Regions from separate parts of the Homo sapiens genome. Here region 2 is linked to region 1. Evidence: promoter capture Hi-C in human tissues and cell types (Jung and others, 2019). All regions are on one chromosome and are shown on one strand. The core of a region is centred on a gene start or on the middle of the fragment in contact, and the rest is flanking DNA. Distances in the headings are between cores, read along the strand shown.

Region 1 (7,753 bases), core at 3,485-5,984:
ATAGTGCTTGACACAGCAGTCAATTATCAACTGTTAAATTAATGAATATTGTTCAACTCGGTGCCACTGTGAGAAAATTAAAAAGATAGATGACAGTCATTAGCTAATTTCAAGTAGTTTTTTTTTTTAGATACAAGCCAGTGCCATAATAGAAGGCAGTTCATGATATTGTTTTCTAAATATACATTGGTCCGATGGTCTGGCTTGTTCCAAACCTAAGTATCAGAGCACCAAAAGGAAGTGATAGATAAAATGTCAGTCAGTAAACCCTCTGTTAATATTTTTTTCCTCATTCTCAGGCCATTAGTAATGTTTGAGCAGCAGAAATCTTAGAGACATATTCTTAAATATCATAGAGTAAAAGAATTCTATGCTGCCAATTCATAACAAAATCAGGCATAATCAATTGAGTGAAGGTTAAGGTTGGCACTGTCTTGCAAAATTAAGCAGCTTAAAAAGGACAAACGTAACAAAGAAAAGGGACCTATTCTATGTTCCTTTGAACAAGAAAAAAAATAAATGTTGAAACCCCAAATGTCCAGGCCATTTCAGTTTCTCAGACTACAATCCATTAAATAATCATTTAATCACAGTGACATGGATGAACACACAGATACACTGTTGAGTGAAAGAAGCGTGACATAGAAGACTGCAGAAGATGCTACAGTCTTTGCCTCCACTAGGAAGGAGGGCCACATGTGTCCATTTAAGTTAAAGTCAAAAAAGGATAGGAGAGTACTTTCAAAAATGATGAAAATGGTGGATATCTTAATTTGGGTGATGGTTACATGGGTGTACATATTTGTCAAACTCAGTGAATTGTATACTTAAGAGCATTATGTTTTAATAAATTTAAAATATAACTCAATTTAGACAAAATTAAAGTGTCTTTCAATGAGTGTTCTGGATGAAGAGGAATGAAATAAATATAAACAAATTTCCTTACTGCAGGATCTCTTACAGCTTTTAATATGCAATTATGCACTGTATATTTCTAAGAGGAGACTATAAGATACAGTAATGTTCCAGACTTAATTGGTCAAGGAACCTTTTTTTCTCATATACATTGACATATGTAAGACACTACAGTTTCAGAAACCCAATAACTTTAGCCTGGAAAAAAATTCAAACAAAGGCTACAAATACCACTGAAGTCATTGAGAAAATATTAACATCTAATTTTAAGCAATCACTTTCTAGTGAATCTTCCAAAATGAACTAGTTATAAAATGTATTCCTATATATGGTCCAATTAAGAACTAGAGAAATTCTGCCCAAGATAATAAATATAGTTCTGGTATTGTTAACCTTAAATTCCTTCTGGCAGTAATTAGATAGCAAAGCCAGATGTATATTGAAGAATTCTAAGCTTATGGCAAGGAAGCATCATTCATCATCACATAGACAACACTTATCTGTTTTGTGTAAGACATCCAACTCACCCAGAGATGTTATTCAAGGCATTAATACACAGCTAAAGATGATAGGTCATAGGTTGAGCTCCCCAGGAAGCTGACTCTGTGACTGATGTGTGTGCAAGAGATTTGTGTGGGGCGAGCTCTCAGATCAACACCGGCAGGGGAGCAAGAGAAGCCAGACTGGACAAGGGGAGATATTTAACTTGGATTTGACACAACAAAGGCCTCAGTGAATCCCATAGAAGCACTGGAACCAAAGTTCTTCAGCCATCAGGCAAGAGGGCCAGCCCTTTATATCCTCACAATGGACCAGTCTTTGCATGCTGGCTGCCACAGAGAAGGGGCATGACCACTGGCAAGCTGGCTTCCTTGGCTGAGGGGAGTGTTCACAGAAAGAGTGGAGAGCCAGCCACCAATCCTTCCAGCAGCAGGGAGCCCGAGTCTCAGCCCTGAAGCAGAAGCTGGGCGAGGCATCACGGTGCGCACTACAGCAGCCAACACACACTCGTCTCACCAAACTCACAGGGGCATCTGCCCAGCAAGAAACTATTCCTACCTAATCTAACCCTCATGCTATTAACCTAGAAGCTCTGTTTAAGAATCAGGAGCCTAGATTATGCCCCTACTGCTTTGTCCATAACAAGTATTCATAAAATTGCAATAAAAACTAGAAATAATCTTAGATGGTAGCCAAAAAAATATTTCCCAGTGTAAACCACATAATAAGAAACACTGATTAGTTTTGGCATGACTAGAAGCCTAGCTGTTCTTCATGAGAAATAATGGACTGAGATCATCAGAATTCTCTAAGAGCTATAACAAGAACATCTATAAAATTTAACCTCAGAAAACTTTTGAATAACTTCCTGACACTGGAGTATTTTTTATATTACATTTCCCTCTGCTATCTTTAATAAAATTAAATTGGTATCCCAATAAACAAAGTAACAAGAAAAAATGAGAGGTTCTAAGTTTCTCCCTGGTTCTCCTTTTTAATAATCAATTCATCTTAATTTATGCTAATAACAATTCAGTCAGAACACATCTGTTGAGGACCTTCCATTATGAGATACCATGCTTAGATACCACATGTGAGGTTTATGAATTGCATCTGGGTGGATAATATAATAGTATAAGATAGATGTAATATAGATTACATCTATATTAAGGGTATGGAAATGAAGTTCAACATCTAATAGAGAAGACAGACATTTACACAGATGTCATGCATTCATTCAACAAACATACTTAAGCACTATGCGCCCAGCTGTTAACAAGATAGACACAGTTCCTGCCTTTATGAGGCTTACATGAGACATGATGTGTTAAAAATAGAAGGCTGCAGAAGGTGCTATAGTCTTTGCCTCCACTGGGAAGGAGGGCTACAGAAAGCTTAGGAACAGTAAACTTAGTAAGAATAATAGCAACTAACCTTTATTGAGTGCTTAAAATGTGCCAGGCAAATATGTAAATTTATTTGGCTTTCACGTCAATCCTGAGGTCTTTTTATTATTAATGTTCCCTACTTGCGGATGAGGAGACTAAAACACAGAGATTAGGTAGCTTAATCACGCTTACAGATGTGGTGAGTGGTAGGCCTGGGATCCAGAGCTGCTCTGGAACTAAGCACGAATTTGCCAGATGGACACACACAAAAAAGGAATGGTAAGAGCACTCCGGGCACAGGGAAGTACAAGTACAGAGACATAAAAATGGTCAGAAACATGTAAGTTCAGTCTGCATACAGGCTGACTGGGAGAGTAACCAGAGTCCAGGCCTGCAAAGTGGGGCAAGCAGGGTACAGGTAGATGAAGAAAAGTGTTATGTGCCCCACAAGGAAGGGACTGCAGGAGTGTAGGCATGGGAGTGATGCCAATTGTGTCATTAATATCAGTAAGAATATCAATAGGAATGAAAGTGGCTGACATTACTTGAGAACCTCCTATAAGCCAGACATGGGCCAAATACTTACACACATTATCTCAGTTTAGCTTCACTACAATCTTATGAGGAAGGTATTATCCCATTTTACAAGTGAGAAGACTGAGCTTTAAAGGGAGCAACTAGATGAGGCGAGGTTCTACTGTTTATGAGTGATAGAGCTAGGATCCAAAACCAAGGAACTCTAAGGTCTGTGTTCTCCGCTGCCTGCTCGCCAGCGTGCATATTTAACGTGGAGGGGTAGGAGGGTGGCAGGCATGGCAGTGAGGGGGGCACTAAGGCACCCACCCAGGAAATAGGTGGCTAGATCTCGACCACAGGGTGCCAGCTGCAGGCTGCAGGAGAGGACATGTGAGAAACACGCATACAGAGGTAGCACCGGAGACGAAGTGGGATCTGGCAGCGAGAATGAAGGAAGAGTCGCGGATAACAGCAGCTGTCTGAAGAGGTGGTGATTCCATCATGCAAGCCAATGGGTAGGAACAAGCACTGAGAGCCGGGCAGGGGGATGCGGAGTGAGGGAAGATGCTGAGGTCAAGGTCTCCCAGGCTACCATGGAAGGAGCCAATGGGCAGCTAGAGATTTAGGTCTGGAACTGAGAGAAATAATCAGCTATGAAGGTACAGACTTGGCCACAAACATATTGAAGGCATGAGAGTGGTTGAATTTGTCCAGGGAGAATGTGAAGAACAGAAGGTGATAGAACTGTAGCAAAACCCAACTATTGAGGAAAATATTTTCATGCCTGCAAAAAGAGAGAGATCGAACTGCCTCCTTTAGAAACCTACTTGGGAAAGGGCTTTCTTTACAAGTAAGGCAAGTTGTCATTACTGGTGGGGGAAAAAAATTGGTACTGCGAAACCAACTTATTTCCTACCACATGTGAGGTTTTGAATAATATCTGGGTGGCATATTTCTGCTGAAGAAAATAAGCCAGTTCAATGGTGTATCTATTAAATAAAAATAGTGCTAATAGTTTATCAGAGTTATCACCACAGACGTGCCTAGCCACCCTGAGCCTATGTGGCCAATGTCAGTAATTCCACTCTGGACACAAACACTGTTGGCTTTGGATGGAAGTGCCGGACACTCACAGCACTCCGAGGACATACTGTTTTCTAGCCTTATTTATGTTCTCTCTTCACCCTTCAGCCTAAAAAATTACCACAGTGCCACTTACCTACCTTAATGGGAATCTGCACAAAAGGCCATTTCTCCAGTTTCTCTCAAAAGCAAAGGAAAACTTCCCAATATTAATATGTAGCAAAAAGAGGGAGAAGAAAAAGCCTGTTTGGTCCGCCCTCCTGGCTGTTGCTACCTTGCAGCTTATGACATACACATAGAGGGAGGTCTGATGAAATGAACGAGACAGTCAGAGAGCTACTCCATTCCCGTGGAAACCAGGAGTCCCTTGGTGCAGACAGCTCTTCCTACTTTCCCATGCAGTTCTTTTGTGCGACTTTGAGGGGCTCGTGAATGATTTCTAAATGTGTGCCTGCTGAGGCGAGCCGCACAGGGAGGGAGGAACCCAGCCGAGCCGTGCCAGAGGAAGCCAACAGGATCCTAGCAGTGCGGGAGCTGGCTCAGCTCTTGCATGCAGTTTTTGAAGTCAGCAAAACAGAAACCAAATTACTATCATATTATGCTGGTGGAAGATCAAGAAGAGGGGACTCTACACCAGTTTAATTACTGTGAGAGATGCAGCGAGTCACAGAATAACAAATGTATCTCATGTGTGGACCCTGAAGACAAATGTAAGTTCTCATGCCGCTATATTTTATTGCTGTGTAATTTTCTTTCCGGTTTGAAATCATGCTTGGCCAACATGTAATCATTTCAATGAGAATTTCCAGGGAGGAAAGTTGTCTGCTAATCTTTACTTAAGACTTTTTTGTTTTCCTTTTATTAGCTAAGCAACATTATAGGAGCTGAAATTCCTGACAGCAGCTGTGGCAATTCAGCTTAAGAATGGCTGAGAACTGTAACCCAAAGTACATCCAATTACTATGGGATTAACACTGGATGTATTTTTAATTGACTTTCTTAATGTAGAATGTGTACATCCCCACTGTTTCTGATTGCATGCTATTTTAATAATACTGTTGCTAAACTAGTACCATCGGCATAACCAACAAAATGAGATATAGTTAAACAAGAGTCCCAGTAGTTATAAAACTTTTCTTCTTTGTCCAGGACATTTATCTTCCCGAGCGCTCAAAAAAAACCCTGCAACCTCTATGCTAAAAGTTCATTCTGCTTTTTTGTCCTCGGTTTGGTGAGAAAATAATAAAACCAAACAGTGGACTCTCCTAAAATTGTGAATGAAGAAAACTTACAGCCACCACAGTTCAGTTCTTTAACTATCATTGTAATAATGGAAGACAAAAATCCAGCCCCGGGAGAACAGCATGTACACCAGCCTCAGTGTTACAGAGTGTGGGTACATCAAGGTGAATGGTGAGCAGAAACTATAACCTGTTAGTCCTTCTACACCTCATCTGCTACAAGTTCTGGCTTAGACATGGATATTCTTTGTGAAGAAAATACTTCTTTGAGCTCAACTACGAACTCCCTAATGCAATTAAATGATGACACCAGGCTCTACAGTAATGACTTTAACTCCGGAGAAGCTAACACTTCTGATGCATTTAACTGGACAGTCGACTCTGAAAATCGAACCAACCTTTCCTGTGAAGGGTGCCTCTCACCGTCGTGTCTCTCCTTACTTCATCTCCAGGAAAAAAACTGGTCTGCTTTACTGACAGCCGTAGTGATTATTCTAACTATTGCTGGAAACATACTCGTCATCATGGCAGTGTCCCTAGAGAAAAAGCTGCAGAATGCCACCAACTATTTCCTGATGTCACTTGCCATAGCTGATATGCTGCTGGGTTTCCTTGTCATGCCCGTGTCCATGTTAACCATCCTGTATGGTGAGTGGCATTAGTTTCCCAGCTATATTCGCACTGGTAATAAAGAGCATGTGCATGCCACCAGCAGATGAGATGGGGCTCAGGGGGCAAACAAACTATAAATAGAAGTCTTTGTTTATAGACTAGAGCCTACTATGTTACTTATATTTTACTCTTAAAATGGGATTTCACATAAAAATCAGACAGTCTATGACCTGTGATCACTGGAGAGTTTTGTGCTTCAAAACGCGTACATCCTGTGTAAAAATGATCATTGGAGAGTTTTGTGCTTCAAAACATGTACATTTAATGTAGAAATTTTTATAAATTACCCCATACAGTCATAAACCAATAACTTACCCATCATTCTGAATCTACTTGATTTTTGCTTCTTTATATTCCCAACCAATATTCCAGCCTTCAGGACAGAACAGTTTTAATCTTTGTCACACAGTTTTCAGCACTTTTAATGGAGTGATAAAGCCTTCCCAATTACTTTGGAACATTTGCAGAGAGAACATTAGTGGTGCAATAGGTTTTATGTTAAAATATGCAGAACCTCAATTAGAATAAATGAATTACTCCAGTTTTAATTGTTCCCTGCCCAGAGAAGCTAATTTGGAAATGTGCCTTTGAATTATATCCTCAACTCTTTGAAAATGCATATGCATAAACTCCTCCAGTCTGGTTTGGAGGAGGGTGGGAAACAAATGGGAAGGGATTAATCTTGCTTTCTTCTCAACAGAGTTTGAAACAGTCAGACCTCTCAGCAAGGGACCAGAATGTGATATTCTTTCCAAATTATGAGTAATACAGCCAGATACCTCCTTAAAGGAGAGACTATTGTGACTGCTGACACAGGCACAAGCAGCAGTCACTCAGAGCTTAGAGACAGGTTATGATAGCTATCTTTAAAGGGAAATTTTCTGGTCAAGTCTTAGGGGCTAAGATTAAAAAACATCAACCCAGCCCTAGAGAATGTGAAGGAGGAAGGCGGTACGCAAGGGCGAGCAGGCGCCAGTTTGCACAAAGCTAGTAACACTCATTCCAAGTCCAGCCTTCACTTGACCATTTAAATGCCACACCGGAATGATTTCATTTAATTTGCCTGCCCTTTCCCCGGCATCCCGGGGAAGATTCTCGCTTCCCAAACCCCCTCCCCTAGGGGGCAAACTCCAGTGGGGGTAGGAGGAGTGACAGAGCGGGACCCAAAACAGAGGCTGGAGGGTGGGGTGACCCCCGGCGTCACCCGCTTGGGGAGCAAGGGCGCCCCCTGGCGGCCGCCGCTCTGAGAGCAGCCCGTTCCCTCCGGAGCCCCGCCCCTCCCTAGGCTGCTCCTCCAGCCTCCCCCAGCCCACGGGGCGTGGGGCATGGGGCTTCTCCCACAAGGAAATGCCCCCTCCTTATCCCGCATCAGAAACACGGACTGAGGCCTGGGCCGCCTCCTGGCAGAGAAACCCCTCCGAGGGCCGACATCTGTTC
Region 2 (7,753 bases), core at 1,009-3,508, 1.0 Mb before region 1:
GCTGAAAGATGTTAAGGCAGACTTTATTCAGAGGGACTGTTGCAATAAGCATAGAGACTACTGCAGTGGAGTTTTGCAGTAGGGGAGAAAGATTGGGCCCAACTCCAAATACAGCAAGGAAAAGTGGGAATTTATAACCAAGGAAGAGGGTCGGGGCAGTGGATGAAAAATTACTAAAAGGATACATTATGGGTAAGGGAGGATCCTGGCTAAACTGACTTAAGCAAGATTCTTGGTAAAATTGGACTATGCAGGGACAAATACAGAAGTCCAAAAGTTAGGGCCAAGTTGAGAAGAGAGTTCAGAGTAGCCTTTGGGAGGCTGAGGCAGGAGGATTGCTTGAGTCCAGGAGTTTGAGACTAGCCTGGGCAACATAGGGAGACCCTATCTTCACACATGTGCGCACACACACATGCACGCACACACACATGCACGCATATGTATGTATGTGTGTGTATCTATCTATATATTCGATAAATATATATTGAAAAAACAAAAGAGAGTTTGGTCAAGGAGAGAATCTTTGTCAGAACGTCTTATATCTGTGATCATCTTAAACAACGGTCAGCTCCTGCCCAATCTTGTTTGTTGTTTTGTCTGTATTCTTACTTCCTCCCACAACTGTGATTATTTTCAAGCAAATCCCAGACATTATATCATTTCATACATTTCATCATGCATCTGTAAAAGATAAAGGTATTGATAATGGTATAAAAAAATTACTGTTACTTGTTTTAGGTGGGGTAATGGTATTATGGTTATGTTTTATAAAAATACAGTCTGTTGAAATTTCTGAGTCTCTTATATCTTTTGTTTAAGTTCTTTGTAAGGGTCAGAATAAGTCTCTGCATTGTAGTTGGTTAATATGTCAGTAAGTTTCTTAATCTGTTGGTTTCCCCTTTTAAAAAGAAAAGTATTTTCTGTGGTTTATTTGTTGAAAAATCCAGGTTGATGGTCTTGTTAAGTTTCTCATAGTCTGGATTTTAATGGTTGCATCTTTAGGCTGTCATTCATTTACTGTGTTCTCTGCCCTCTCTGTGTTCTCTGCCTTGTGTATTTCCTGTAAACTGGGAGTTCAGTCTGTAGGCTTGACCATATTCATATTTGATTTTGGGGAGCAGGGAACAAGAATATTTCATAGTAGGTGTTTAATTTCATCAAAACGTATACAATGTTAATCTTTTTGTGGTATTACTAGCCATTGACATCATAGCTTAGATCCAGTATTTTGTTTGTGTTGCAAAGCGTTGCTATTGTAATTCTGTCATTCTTCACTTATTATATGTAATGCTTCTAAAAAGTAATACTTCCACGTGTCAACCATTTGTTACCATGGAGTACATTTTGCATAGGAAAAGTAGGATAATTACCTGATTATTTGCCTTTATTGACCAATTTTCAAAATAATGTTTGTTCTATTATGTCCAATAAAGGTGACCTAGGGTTTTTTTTGTTTTTTGTTTTTTTTGTATTTTGTTTACTTTTTGTTTTCAGGTGTGTGTGTGTGTGTGTGTGTGTGTATTGTGCGTGTGTGCATACACATGCATACACATGTGTGTTCCACTGGCATACTGTTTTGAACTTATGACTTAAAACATTGATGTAGTTCAGTTCATGTAAGTTGTGATTGAAATTGTCCAACCTTTGGTCTTTGGGAACCTCTTCAGGTTAACTGTTGCATCCTTCTGAGAAGCCCTCTATCTGGTATGATAAAATGTTTCAGGCTCATCTTTACGTTTCTTGAGTCAGAACTTGAATGGGCCAAATGGTATTTAGAGAGCACAATTTGGCCTTATGAGTATTCATAGATACTGGGTTGATTATTGTTTCTGAGCTTTTTAAGTGGCAAGTCTGAGAAAACATGTATTTTTTAAAGAGGTAATACTTGAGTTCATACTGATATTTTCAATGCAAGTCCAGGAGTATAGATTTTTTTTTCTTATCTGACATCTGTTTGTACCTTCGTTCATGCCATACTATCATAATTATTCATTTGCTTTGTCCCTTAGTACAGATATGACAGTTTTATAATAAGAATACCAACAGTCTGATTACTGAAAGCAATTATATCTGCATTTCTTTCTGTCCTTTAGGGTATGTCCCACAACTTAGTGGATTTTAAAATTCATGTGAAATAATTCTCTGTGTGTTTTGTCTCAGCTTTGTATAGTTTCATTGTTTTTAAAGGGATTGCTTTTTTTAAAAAAAAAAAAACACAACCTTTTGTTTTTTATTTTGTATTTACATGATTCCAAAGTGGAAAGTATAGAACAAGGTATTATCAGGGAATCTAGCTTTTATATATTTCCCTCTTTACTTCTTCCCCAACAGGCAACCTTTTTACCTTTTTTTTTTGTTTGTTTTTTAAGAAAGTTTTGGTTTATCTTTCCACTTCTTAAAAACATAAGCTAATTGTATGTATATAACTATATGTATGTGTGCAGTAGTCCCCCCTTATCTGCAGGGAATGTGTTGCAAGACCCCTAGTGGGTGCCTGAATCACAGATAGTTCCAAACCTGTATATACTGTGCTTCTTCCTGTACATATATTCCTTTGATAAAGTTTATGTATTAGACATAGTAACAGATTAACAACAACTAATAATAAAGTAGAACAATTATAACAATATACCGTGATAAATGTGAATGTGGTCTCTCAAAATATCTTATTGTTCTATACTCACCTTTGTGGTGATAATGAGATGATAAAATGCTTACTTGGTGAGATGAACTGAGGTGAATGATGAAGGCATTGTGACATAGTGTTAGGCTACTACTGACCTAATGATGTAACAGAAGGAGAATCATCTGCTTTGGTTCATCCTGGATCATTGAGCCATGATGTTGATTGTTGGATGTCAAGAGTAGATAATGTTGATGACTAATGGAAGAGTAGTTTATACAGCGTGGATACGCTGGGCAAAGAGATGGTTCACATTCCACTTGGAGCAGGATGGTGCAAGATTTCATCACACTTCTCAGAACAACACACAGTTTAAAACTTAATGACTTTTTTATTTCTGGAATTTCTCATTTAAAATTTTTGGACCACAGTTGACTGCAGGTAACTGAAACTGTAGAAAGTGAAATTGGATAAGGGGGGGACTTTGTGTGTGTGTGTGTGTGTGTGTGTGTGTGTGTGTGTGTGTGTCTCCCTTTTCCCACTTTAGATTAATGGTAATCTATACTTTGTTTCTTTTACTTAACAATAATGTGTATCAGAGAACACTTCATAGTAGATACAGAGAGATGAGAATTTTTTGTCTTCCCTTCCATTATGTTTATAGACATTTCATTGAACACTCGAACACTCTTTGGGCTCTATAGCTTAATCAATAGTAGATTCTTGATTTTTTTTTTTTTTTTTTTTTTGAGACTGAGTCTTGCTCTGTCACCTAGGCTGGAGTACAGTGGCGTGATCTCAGCTCACTGTAACCTTTGCCTCCTGGGTTTAAGCAATTCTTGTGTCTCAGCCTTCTGAGTAGCTGAGACTACAGGTGTGTGCCACCACGCCCAGCTAATTTTTTTTTTTTTTTTTTTTTTTTAAGACAGAGTTTTGGTCTTGTTGCCCAGGCTGGAGTGCAGTGGTGTGATCTCGGCTCACTGCAACCTCCATCTCCCAGGTTCAAGCAATCCTCCTGCCTCAGCCTCCCAAGCAGCTGGGATTACAGGCATGTACCACCATGCCTGGCTAATTATGTATTTTTAGTAGAGATGCGGTTTCACCATGTTGGTCAGGCTGGTCTTGAACCCCTGACTTTGTGATCCACCTGCCTCGGCCTCCCAAAGTGCTGGGATTCAGGTGTGAGCCACTGCGCCCAGCCTTGTATTTTTAGTAGAGATAGGGTTTTGCCATGTTGACCAGGCTGGTCTCGAACTCCAGACCTCATATGATCCTCCCACCTCGGCCTTCCAAAGTGCTGGGATTACAAGCATGAGCCCCCAGGCTTGGCCAGACTCTTGAATTTACCGAGTTAATGTGATGTCATTTCACAAAAATAATAAAAGTCTTATGTCCTTCTTTGGGAAAGTACTTACTAGTAAACAAAATTTAACTCTAGCTTGGAGACAGAAGAATTTAAACTTAAACCTGAATTAAAAATAAAGAATTTGAGCAAGGGAATAGTAGGAGAAAGTATTTCAGAAAGCCTATTTTGACTTTGAGATGTGGGATATATTGAAGGGAAAAGGGGAGAGATAGTAGGAGTCCATCTAGTGCAATACTTAGATATGAGAAAAGGTGAAGGTAATAAATAGGTTATAACTTGTCTCTGAAAGTGCACTTTTTTGGAATGAAAACTTAAATTAAGAAAAGCTTGGAGGACATGAAAAGAAGGAGAAGAACCAGTAGGACCTTGATCAAATAGATCATGAGAGGTAAAAGTGAACAGTTGATTTAAATTATGACTACAGTGTTTTTATTGACTGGGAGATTATAGAAGTCATAACAATAATAATATTGAATGAGATGATGATGATATTAGCAGTTACTACTGTTTATTGAGTGTTTACTGTGCATGCAATGCTAAGCTGTTTTCTTCAAGGATTATCTCATTTAATATGAATTTGGTGATAAAATTTCCATTTTTATAGATGAAGAAACAGGCTAGATAAGTTAACTTATTCAAGGTTGTATGTCATAAGCATCAGAGGGGGGATTTGCAGCCAAAGATATCTAACTTCAAAGCCTTTTCTTAACTAATTTACTGAGGAAGAGAGAAGCTGAGTTTGTTTTTTTGGTCTTAGACATGTCTAAATTTGTATGATGTTTTGTATGGTAACTGGTGGATATTTTTAGACAGATTGTAGAGAGAATTGGAACTCAGGTTAGCAATTGTTAACTTACTGACAAAAAGTAAAATACTAACTAGTAGACCCAAATTTCTATCCCAACATTTTAAGTTAAGATTGTATACTTATTTCAAAACAAATTTTTACTTAGATGTGCTTTGAGTTGTGGAGTATCCAACAAAGACACTCACTGTTTCTGTCTTTAAGATAAAATTTAGAATAATATATATATATATACACACACACACACACACACACATACATACACACACATTTTATACACACATATATAATCTTATGTAATACATATGTGTAATCCTAGCAGGTGGTATAACATCTTAATCAGAAAGTATTTAATTGAAGTTTGGACTATGAGGAGTGTCAGACTTGATTATCCTTTGAGAATGTCATTTGCTTATAAGAACGTAATGTGATTTATAGCAATGTCAGAATAGTCCAGATGTTTTAAATGGAAAAAATTGAGTGTACATTAATTTTGCACTGACCTGTAGTTCTGAATTTACCTTTTTGTGAAAATTCTTCGTTCTTTTCTTTTAGGTTGTAAAGCTCTCTGAAATAGTGACCTTAGCGAAGCAAGCACATGTGGATGTGAAATTTCAGTTGCCAATATGATCTGAAAACCCAGTGGATGGCTGAAGGTGTTAAATGTGCTATAATCATTAAGAATACTGTGTTCTGTGTTATTGTTCTTTTTCTTTTTAGTGTGTGGAGATTGTAATTGCCATCTAGGCACACAAACATTTAAAAGGATTTGGACTGCATTTAATTGTACCATTCAGAATGGACTGTTTGTACGAAGCATGTATAATGCAGTTATCTTCTTTCTTTTGTCGCAGCCAGTCTTTTTTGCTTCTCCTACAAAACGTAACTTGCAATTTGCCAGTTTATTATTGTTGGATACAAAGTTCTTCATTGATAAGAGTCCTATAAATAAGATAAATACGAAGATAAAGCTTTATTCTTTAGTGTTAAAATACAGTATATCTAATAACTAGCCTCATTAGTAGAGCAGTATATTAAAACAATGTTTTATGTAAAAAGTGTTTATCTTCAGCACCAAATACATGATAAATGTATCAATCACTATTTATAAACAGAGCTTTCAAACACTCCTCAGAATATTCTTCTAAGTATTTTGATGAAGTAACTTTGTAATTATTTGAACATTGTTTTAATCATTAGGAAACACTGATTAACTGCAAGTCTTCATGATTCTGTCATATTAAGAAACACCTGTAGGTTTGCTTCAAATAAAGGCATATATACCAAGGACTTACAGACAAAATTAAGAATGTCAATTTAAGTTAATAAAAATCTCCCAATATGATTTGGGTTCATGGCTTTTGTTTGCTTGTTTTGAGGTAAACACAGTAGAAGTTGATTTGTTCGTTATTGCAGTATAGAGGTCTAAGCACCAATTCTTAGATCATATACTTGCCATGACAGTGATTTGTTTTTTTTTTTGAGTCAGGGTCTCACTCTGTCACCCAAGCTGGAGTGCAGTGGTATGATCATGCTCACTGCAACCTCTGCCTCCTGGGCTCAAGCAGTCCTCCCACCTGAGCCTCCTAAGTAGCAGGGACTACAGGCACACACCACAAAAAAACATATGTGTTTTTTTTTGTTTTTGATTTTTGTTTTTTTTTTGGTAGGGACAGGGTATCACTATGTTGCTTAGGCTGGTCTCTTACTCCTGAGCTCAAGCAATCCTCCTGGCTTTGCCTCCCAAAATGTTGAGATTACATGTATGAACTACTGCACCCAGCCAACCATACATATTATACAGCTACTTATAGATAGATAGTTCACTGGAAGTCTGCTATTTATGTGTATGCCATCTAGTATATCCTCTAAAGGAAACAGAGGGGAGAATTGAATCCAAGATGCCTAACTTCAAAGCCTTTTCTTAACTATTTTACTGAGGAAGAGAGAAGCTGAGTTTATTTTTTGGTCTTGGACATGTCTAAATTTGTATGATGTTTTTGTTTTTGTTTTTGTTTTGAGATGGAGTCTCGCTCTGTTGCCCAGGCTGGAGTGCTGTTGCACGATCTCAGCTCACTGCAAGCTCCGCCTCTGGGGTTCACACCATTCTCCTGCCTCAGCCTCCCGAGTAGCTGGGACTACAGGCGCCTGCCACCACACCCAGCTCATTTTTTGTATTTTTAGTAGAGGCAGGGTTTCACCGAGTTAGCCAGGATGGTCTTGATCTCCTGATCTCGTGATCTGCCCGCCTCGGACTCCCAAAGTCTGTATGATGTTTTATATGGTAACAGGTGGATATTTTTAGACAGATTGTAGTCACATGGTTCTTTTTGTCCATATATGTAAATATATGTGTGTGTGTATATATACATATTGACCTTTTGCTCACTGCATAAAACTTGGTAGTTAACTAATGCCATGGAAGGAAATGTTGACCAAGCAGTAGACTATTTAACCATACTGATGGATTTAAGAACTTCTACCTATTGTGATGTTCTTAAAGTGTGATCAGATGTATATACTATGAGAGGCAGCATAACGTAGTGATGATGAGCACAGACTTTGAAAGTAGACTGTCTGCTTTGAATCTGGATCCACTACTTACTAGCTGTATGAGGGCTTCTTTTGTTTTTTGTTTTTTTGAGACAGGATCTCAGTCTGTCAACCAGGCTGGAGTGCAGTGGCACAATCATGACTCACTGCAGTTTCAATCTCCTGGGTTCAAGTGATCGTCCTGCCTCAGCCTCCTTTTGTAGCTGGGACTACATGTGCATGCCAACATGCCCAGCTAATTTATTTTTTATAGAGATGGGGTCCTGCTACATTGCCCAGGCTGGCATCAAGCAGTCTTTCTGCCTTAGAGTAAGTTTTAATGCTAGTGTCCCTCAGTTTACTTAGCTCTTTTCTTATCAGTGAAGTTTATTTAGTAAGGGAAGAGAACAAAAATATGTGAGAGAAT

Evidence for each region. The method cuts DNA at HindIII sites, captures the fragments that hold promoters and counts their contacts. A contact is called where the count stands out against the background at its distance.
Region 2: a contact is called between a fragment that was not itself captured here and the fragment with the promoter of HTR2A in region 1, in 1 of the 25 tissues and cell types used here (dorsolateral prefrontal cortex).

The regions. Positions count from the first base shown.
Region 1 is chr13:46,894,034-46,901,786 of GRCh38, reverse strand. HTR2A (5-hydroxytryptamine receptor 2A) reads left to right here and starts at 4,734. Exons shown (of 4, transcript NM_000621.5): 1 at 4,734-5,113; 2 at 5,553-6,292. The coding sequence starts at 5,881. RefSeq lists a silencer at 7,424-7,633. The HindIII fragment of the contact is 6,478 bases long and covers 2,091-7,753 here.
Region 2 is chr13:47,941,042-47,948,794 of GRCh38, reverse strand. SUCLA2 (succinate-CoA ligase ADP-forming subunit beta) reads left to right here. Exons shown (of 11, transcript NM_003850.3): 11 at 5,350-6,139. The coding sequence ends at 5,424. Among named protein-coding and RNA genes, the nearest start is that of LINC00562, 12 kb to the right of the region's middle. The HindIII fragment of the contact is 5,565 bases long and covers 1-5,040 here.